3 separate regions of the Homo sapiens genome follow, and all the other regions are linked to region 2. The links are contacts of gene promoters, found by promoter capture Hi-C in human tissues and cell types (Jung and others, 2019). All regions are on one chromosome and are shown on one strand. The core of a region is centred on a gene start or on the middle of the fragment in contact, and the rest is flanking DNA. Distances in the headings are between cores, read along the strand shown. Region 1 overlaps AUTS2 (activator of transcription and developmental regulator AUTS2). Region 2 holds the start of AUTS2 (activator of transcription and developmental regulator AUTS2). Region 3 overlaps AUTS2 (activator of transcription and developmental regulator AUTS2).

Region 1 (2,700 bases), core at 135-2,634, 310 kb after region 2:
AGCTCTTCTCTCCTTCTCATTAACTGCAACGTGGCGAGCAGGGGGGAAAGTGTGTTTCAGCCCTGTTTGTGTTACAGCTCATCAGTGCTGCCATTCAACAGGTCTCGAGTTCATGTCCCATGCCTAGGAAGAATGAGGTACAGCAGACAACTGGAGTGTGAGCAAGGCAGAGAGGAGCTTTATTTGATCCACAGAACAGCTCCCAGGAGACCTCAAGTGGGTAACTCCTTTCCACAGGCAGGTCATCCCTATGAGTGTCCAGCTCTCAGTGGAGAGGCGAGCCGCAGTGGTAGCTCCTTTCTGCAGCTGGTAGTCCGATGTCTGTTTGAGCCTGGCTGAGTCTCGGGTTTTTATGTGCTTAGAAGGGAAGAAGTACATGTTGATTGGTCCATGGGCAGGCCTGGAAAAAGCACCATCCGATTGGCCAAATGGTCATCAATGAAGTCTTCACTCTGGGCGGCAGACTCCACCGGGAACTGGCACCCTGGCCGCTAGGCTTCAGGTTGTCCCTGGCTTGAAGGTGGAATTTCACTGGGGACCTGTCCCTTTCTGCCCTGAAACCTGTCTGCCTCCCACCATCAATGTGCCATCCATGGCACTCAGGCTGTTGATGCCAAGGGACACCTGTAGGCCCACGCTGAGCCACCTTCAGTCCTACCTTGGCCTCCCTCTTGTGCTCATGGGTGCCCAAAATCTGGAGGGGGTGCTGAGGTGGCAGGGGGCTGGCGTGTCAATGCCACCCGAGTGCATGCATGCCTGGCCAGGTTGTGACAGCACTCAGGCTTAGCCTCAATTTTCCTCTGAAATCAGAGTGGGCTCCAGGTATGGGGAGAAGCCAGGTATGGGGAGAGGCCAGGTAGCGAGAGTAGGCACTTCCAAGACTGCTCGGGCAGGGGCACTTCCCCAGGCGCCTGAGAGCTCAGGGATGCCTGGGTCTGGAGCCACAGCTGGGCAGCTGCATGTGTGCCCAGGAGCATGAATCTCCCTCTCTGCCAACTCAGTGGAGGGTGGGGCTCCTGCCTGTTCCTGGCCCCAGCCGGCTCCTCAGAGCATACAGCCCCGGCTGCAGCCAGCATCTTGGCAGCGGCTGCTCCAGACAGGCTGCCACTGCCATCACTGGGACCATGTAGGGAGTATATTAGGGCTGCCCCATGGTTCTCCAGATAGACTAAGGAGACAAATTGACATAGTACAGTATTAGAAGGAAAGAATATGGAGTTTAAAAACCGTTTTCATGGTCATTCTGCCCCTGCTCTTCTCTTCCCCCTTTCAAACTGAGCAGACCCATATTTCTCCTTTCATCTCTGTCCTTGAGCCTACCTTCAGCTCTTTGGCTTTCATTTTACTCCCTCCTTCCACCCAGTGTCTTTTGCTAGCTTCTTGACCCAGCCAGGATTGCATGGGACATCACTTAGATCTGCTCTCAGAGTCACAAAATGCCTTTGCTTCCTGTTTCCTTGTTCCTTTTACTGTGCTGGTTCTTTTCGGTAAACTTTTAGATTTATCATCTCTAGATTAGTGCAGCATTATTTAGCTCATTGCTATTGTACTCTGGTTTAAAAAATTTCAGTGACCATCCACAGCCATCTAAATAAGATTGAAGCCTCTTAGTATAGGACATTTTAGGCCCTGACTAATCCTGCTGCAATGTACCTTCCCAGTTGCCTTTCCCACTCTCTGTAAACACCAAGCTGCAACTACAACTGCTATTTGGATGAACCCTGTGTTTTCTCCACATTCCTGTGCCTGTGCTTTGGCTATTTTCTTTGTTTAGAATATTCTTTTTTGACATATTTGTCTTCCATTGACTAGTTCAGACCCACTTCTTCCTTGAAGTTTTTATGATCTTTTTCCTTGTAAGTAATTGCATTGTCTTCCCAACTCTTATGATCCTTTGTTTATAACAAGGGTCACCCCAGAATTTATCAGCTAATTTAGGACATTACTGGGAATGAAAGGGGGAACCATTAATAATTACCTTGGAACAATAAGCATTAATCAGGACTTCCTGAAAAACTGGGATATATAGTCACTCTGTAATTCACTTTTGGCCTTTTTCATACCATACTCTGTTTTGAGTTGGAGGTATACATTTTCTTCTTTCCACTGAAATGTTGAGCTCCTCGAGGACCTCACTGTGTGACACAGCAAGGGGCCTAGGCTTATGTCACATATTGGGAAACAACACCCTTAAAACCACTGCTATCCTTTACTCGAGGATACCCTTCTCATATTTATAGTTTCCATTCATGTCTCTTTCCAGTCTTTTCTCCATATGCTAGCCAGAGTGATCTTTTAAAAATATACATATGATCATATTATTCCCACAAGTAAATCCTCTCAACTGCTTCTCAGGGTATTCAGATTGAAAATCAGACTCCCATCATCTGCAGTGCCCAGTTATCCAGTGCTGTTTCTTCAGCTTCATGTCATGCTTCCCTTGCTTACTGGCTCCAGCTCCCGACCTTCCATTCCCTCCCACATGCCAAGTTCCTTCGTACCCTGGACACCTTATGCTATCCTCTTTGGAAGAAATGGTTCCCCCTCTGTTTTTTGAATGATGAGATCCTTCTAGTCCTTTAGGCTTGAACTGAAATGTCATCTTTCATAGGGGCTTTTCTCGACCATATGGTTTATTTAACTCAGGATCTGCCATTTGTCTTCTGTGTTTTGCACTCACCTTTTTAACTTCCTAACACC
Region 2 (2,700 bases), core at 83-2,582:
CGTATCCAAGAGGCTGCTGAGAGCGGGCTGTCGGTCTTTCTGATCCGTATAGATCAATTCCAGTGCCCTGAAAAACGCACAGCTATTTTACCCAGAGAGGCTGGTCGCTTTTGTTGATCGATTCTCGGCTGCAGTCAGCTCTTTAATACAACTTTTTATGAGCATCAGCCACATTGCGGCGGGAGGAGGGGCTGTGGTGGAAAAAGCAGGGAAACCGCCCCCCACTCCCAAAAAGTAAAGGAAGCCCGCGGGGCAGGGACTGCGGTTTGCCGGTCTAACGGGTCCTCGAGCTGGGGCGGCGGTCCCGGCCCCTTCGGCCCCGCCCCTCGCCCGCGGCCGCCTCCGAGGTTCAAGTTCGGCCCCCGGCTGTTAGGCCTCGCGCTCCCGGATCTGAAGCCGCCCGTGCGTCCCTAGGTCCCCCGCTGGAAGACGAGGCGGGAATCCCAGGGGTCATCCGGGCGCGGGGTCGCTCGTCCACGCACTGTGGTGCCACGTGGAGGAAAAGTTTCCAACTCTGCCAGTTGGTGCTCCCACTGCGCCCAGGCGGAGCAAAGGCCCGCGCTTTGGCACCCGCTCCCCGTTCTGTCTCCTCCAGTCGCGCCCCCTCCCAGGGACGCCCCCCTTGTACCCCTTCTCTGAATTCCCTTCTCTCCTCGCAGCGCAGGTAGCCAAGGGAAAACACCCTTGGGGGCTGGTGGGGCTTCCCGAGAAGGCGGCCTCGGGCCGGCCAGGGGTAGAGGATCCAGGGACAAGTGTCCCGAGGAGGATGTGGGGGGCGCGCGCGCGAAGTGGCCTGGGAGCAGGGGCCCACACGCGTCCCCGCTGCGACAGGCGGGATCCTCCGGCGGCTTCCACGCCCTGGCGCGCCAACTCTGCCCGGCCGCGGCCGACCCCACGCGGGCGCCCCCTCCACGCCCCCGCCCCCGCCCCCCTCACAGCTCCCCACCGCCCCCAGTGCGCAGGCCCGGCCGCCCCAGCGCGCATGCCCTGGGCTCGCGAGCGCGGCCAGCCCCCAGCCTTTTGCTTTCTACACACTCTACAACTGGGGAGGGGGCGGGGGAGGAGGGAGCCCAGCCGTCCACGTGATCCCGCCGGCCGGGGCCGCGGGGGCGGGAGCGCGCGCCGAGAGAGGCGCGGGGAGGGCGGGTGCGCGGGAGCGCGCGCACTCGAGCGAGCGAGCGAAAGCACGAACGAGCGAGCGAGCGAGCGAGCGAGCGGGCGGGCGCGGGGTTGGGCTGAGGCGGGCGGCGGCGGCGGCGGCGGCGGTGGGCTGGCCGCGGAGGGGGAGGAGCGGGAGCTGCGCGAGGCAGGCGGGCGGGCGGAGGATGGGGCAGTGCCCGGGCTCCCGCTGCAGCCGCCCGGGGACACGCCGTGCACCCTCCGGCTCGGGGCTTTCTCGGCGGCGGCGGCGGCAGCAGCAGCAGCGTTAGCGGCGGCGGCGAGAGCAGCGTTCCCGGCTGCGCTTCTCCCTCAGGCGGGGCGGCGAGAGAAGCGGCGGCGGCGGCGGCGGCACACCGGTGTCTCTCCCGCTGGAGATTTCTTTCTGCTTTCCTCATCGACTGACTGACTCACCCCCTCCCTTTTTTGAGGAAGGGTGACCTCTTCTCTGGGACTGGAAAAAATATTTTTGTGAGGAGGGGGGCGGGTGGCAGCGACAGGGTTTGCTTCTTCTCTTCTTTCATCTCCCTCTCCTCCCCCCTCGAAGACCGAAAAGCAAACCCCACAACTGCTCCAGCAGCATCCTCCTTCCCTTCCTCCGCCTCCCTTCTCCTCCGCCGCTCGCAGTTTCGCCCTCTCTTCCGCTAATGATTGCATTATTATGCTCCCCTCTCTGGGGGGTCTCGCCCCTCTTGGGTCGCTCCGGAGCCCCGGCCTCCCCTGGCTGCATTTCTTAAAAATTTGGGAGCCTGGGAGTGAGTTTTCTCCGAGGCGTGTGTGAGAGGCGGCGGGGGTGTTTTCCTGCGCGAGGGGCGGGTGAAGTTCATTGCCCCCACTTTTCCCGCGACCTTTTTCGGACCCGATTTTGGATCGAGTTGAGGGGGGCGCGGGCGTTTTCGGGGGGCGGGGGGCGCGGCGGAGAATGGCCGCGGGGAGGGCTCCCCGGAGCCTCCCAGTCTCTTGATCAAAGCATTCCGCTATTCTGATTTATTGCTTGCTTGGTGAGTTATTTTTTTTTCCTCTAAAGGAGACCTGTGTGTTCAGCCATTACTTTGCTCGGCGCTGCTCCCAGGCATCTCCGACCCTCGGTGCTGTGGGGAGCCCCACACTTGGGCTCCTCGCCTCTCGCCCTCGCTCCCCGTCCCTCCTCCCCTCTCTCCGCCCCTTCCCCCTTTTCTTTCTCCTCTCTTTCTTCCCCTCTCTCCCTTCTTTCGGCCGCCGTCTCCCCCGCGCCCTCCTCGGGGCGGAGGGAAGCCGTGAAGGGGGAGGGAGGGCTCGGTGTCAATTTTTTTTTGTGTGGCTGCGGCCGTAGCCTGTGGCGGGCAAGCGGGGAGACCCCGGCGCAGCAGAACCATGGATGGCCCGACGCGGGGCCATGGACTCCGCAAAAAGCGGCGGTCGCGGTCGCAGCGAGACCGGGAGAGGCGCTCCCGGGGCGGGCTGGGGGCCGGCGCGGCCGGCGGCGGCGGGGCTGGCCGGACCCGGGCGCTCTCACTCGCCTCGTCGTCGGGCTCCGACAAGGAAGACAATGGGAAGCCCCCG
Region 3 (2,700 bases), core at 138-2,637, 460 kb after region 2:
ATAGTTTCGCCTTCGCAAGAATGTCATACAGTTGGAATCATACTATATATATGTAGCCTTTCAGATTGGCTTCTTTCACTTAGTTATTATACATTTAAGGTCCTCCGTGTCTTTTAATGGCTTAATAGCTCATTTCTTCTTAGCACTGAGTAGTACATTGCCTGGATGTTCCACAGTTTATTTTTCCATTCACCTAATCTTGGTTGCTTCCAAGTTTTGTCAATTATGGGAAAAAGCTACTGTAAACATTTATGCGCAGATTTCTGTGTGGAGATCTTAACATTCACATTGGTTACTTTTTTTAAATTTCAGATTTATCAATATTACAGAGCTATTGCAAGAGTCATATGAGAATCGAGGATCTGGAAATTCTGTATGAAAGAGGTGCCATCTGAGTAGGGCCTTAAAGGATGCGCTGATTTGGACACATAGATTGGAGGAGGTACATCGTACTGTGGCTGGCACAGTATGTGATTTTCTGTTTGATTGGAGTTCATGGTAAATGTAGGAACACGGTGTTATGTTTTCGATGCCTTCGATGCTAGGCTAAAGAAGATAGGCTTCCTTAGTGAGGCCATAGGAACCCATGGCAGATTTTTGAGGTAGGAAGTGATAAGTAATGTCACTCATTTATTTAAGCAGCTAGTCAAGCTCGCTTAGTTCCAAATAGCTGCTTGACCTTGCCTAGTTCCAAATAATTGACTTAAAATTAACAAGTTGACATTTATTAAACAGTACTTTTTACAGTTTAATTGTTCACCACTTTAGACTAAATTTTTTCTACAGGTGGTGCAAGTTAATTAGATTTTCTTATAATGAGAAAGAAAAGCATTTCAGTACAGTGTCTTCTGTTCTGATATTCAAGGTCATTTCCTATATAAAAGTAAAATTCTACACAGCATAAAACCATCCTTTTTGACATTTAGGGACCATAGGTTTTAATAACATTGAACAAAGGGTTAAATTTTTTAAAAAGTTTTTGTACACTCTTTCTTTGGTATGCTTCATCTCTTTCATTTGAGCTGAACAGCTTTAAATTTCACTTAAAGAAATGCTAGATAAAGAGAAGAACATTGTATAAGGGCAACTAAGTGAACAGGAAGCTGTGCTTCTCAGAATGGGGAGATTTTAAAATAGAGGAGAAAGCTGTCAAAGCAAAAGTATAGCAGCCTCAGCTTTACTTGGGAATTTATTAGAAATGCAGATTGTTAGACTCTACCCCAGAAGTCCTGTGGGCGGGGCTGGCAATCTGTGTTGTAAGCGAGAAAGACTAATCTAAACCACTGATCAAGGGAGGGGGATGTTAAGACTTACTGCAGAAAAGAGGTGAGAAATTGTACTAACAGTTACTGTTAATTCAACACTTACTTTGTAATGCACATTTTACAGATACAGCTTATGTAATCTTTTATGTCAACCCTAGGAAGTATAATATTACAATATCTTACTATATAGATGAGCAGAAAAGAATGGTTTAAGAAGTAGCATTGCAAAACTTCCGGCATGGAAGGTGTCTTTGACTCTATACTCTGACCTCTTTAAATCGTGCTAGGCCATGCAGGTATGTTGTTTGTCTCCCAGAAGGCAGCGGTGGGGCTAAGGCAGCACCCACCTCTCTGCTCCCTCTGCTGCATTCCCCAGCCTCCCTGACTGAGGTAGGTATTTCTTCCTTCCTGCATCCAGGTGGAGCCTGCCTGGTCCAGTGAAGGAAGCAGAACAGGAATGGCAGGAAACCAGCTTTTTCTGTTTCTCTGGAGTTCTCTTAACAAACCCTGTGACCCTAGGCCTGTCTCTTGGTATCTCTATGCCTTATTTATTTTCAGCGGTAAAATGAGGACTGGGATAAATCTGTAGGTTCTTTCTGAATTTTATCTGGCTCTAGCACTTAATTAGAGACAGATGGTCAAACTAGGTGACCTCTCAAGGGTTCATTCTGGTTCGTGTTGAGAGGAGTTTGATATTGGAAATAATAGATTCTTGTTTATGTGCGAAATGGAGACAGTACTTTCTGGAAATGGTGTGATGCAAAGTGAAATCATGTCTGTGAAGTCCCTAGTAGCCTGCCTGGCATACATGGAAGGTGCTCAGTAAATGGTAGTTCCTCAGTCCCCAAGAGGAAAACAGCCGCATTCCTGATTCTGGTGTTTTCTTTCCTTAAGTTTTAACAGGTTAGTATTTTAATTTTCCTCTCAAGGAGGGAATAAGAGGTGCTAGGTTTGTATTAAAATATTAAGTTAATTAAAGCTTCCTATTAAAATTTTAAGAGAGAGGAAGAGAATGGGGCAACATGACCACAATAAATAAAGCAAATAGGTCATTATGTTTCCAAATGGCATTATCCCTTGACTGTTGGTAGCTTTCCTAATAATAATAGGTTGAAAAAATGTTACTGTAACATAAATAATAAAAGATACTTATGGTAGTACTCTGCTAAGTACTATATAGACATGAGATACTTAATAACTTTTAATATCATGGTTTGGCAAAAGAAACTTCACAATGGATTAACTATTTATTTGGTGAACTTAACTTGGGGCAGGCTTGTGGGTGGAATTTAAGGGTTATTTCTTCTTTTTTTTTTTTTTGCTCCCCCGGAGACGGAGTTTCACTCTTGTTGCCCAGGCTGGACTGCAATGGCGTGATCTCAGGTCACTGGAACCTCTGCCTCCCGGGTTCAAGCAATTCTCCCACCTCAGCCTC

The links. The method cuts DNA at HindIII sites, captures the fragments that hold promoters and counts their contacts. A contact is called where the count stands out against the background at its distance.
Region 1: a contact is called between a fragment that was not itself captured here and the fragment with the promoter of AUTS2 in region 2, in 1 of the 25 tissues and cell types used here (dorsolateral prefrontal cortex).
Region 3: a contact is called between a fragment that was not itself captured here and the fragment with the promoter of AUTS2 in region 2, in 1 of the 25 tissues and cell types used here (lymphoblastoid cells).

Annotation. Positions count from the first base shown.
Region 1 is chr7:69,911,385-69,914,084 of GRCh38, forward strand. All of the region lies in intron 2 of AUTS2 (activator of transcription and developmental regulator AUTS2), which reads left to right. Among named protein-coding and RNA genes, the nearest start is that of AUTS2, 310 kb to the left of the region's middle. The HindIII fragment of the contact is 4,625 bases long and covers 1-2,700 here.
Region 2 is chr7:69,597,143-69,599,842 of GRCh38, forward strand. It overlaps AUTS2 (activator of transcription and developmental regulator AUTS2), which reads left to right and starts at 1,333. Exons shown (of 19, transcript NM_015570.4): 1 at 1,333-2,700. The coding sequence starts at 2,512. It overlaps CT66 (cancer/testis associated transcript 66), which reads right to left and starts at 482. Exons shown (of 3, transcript NR_148927.1): 1 at 1-482. RefSeq lists enhancers at 503-582, 1,763-1,812 and silencers at 893-1,312, 1,333-1,412, 2,577-2,646. The HindIII fragment of the contact is 7,960 bases long and covers 1-2,700 here.
Region 3 is chr7:70,059,211-70,061,910 of GRCh38, forward strand. The region is part of intron 2 of AUTS2 (activator of transcription and developmental regulator AUTS2); the gene reads left to right. Among named protein-coding and RNA genes, the nearest start is that of AUTS2, 460 kb to the left of the region's middle. The HindIII fragment of the contact is 5,023 bases long and covers 1-2,700 here.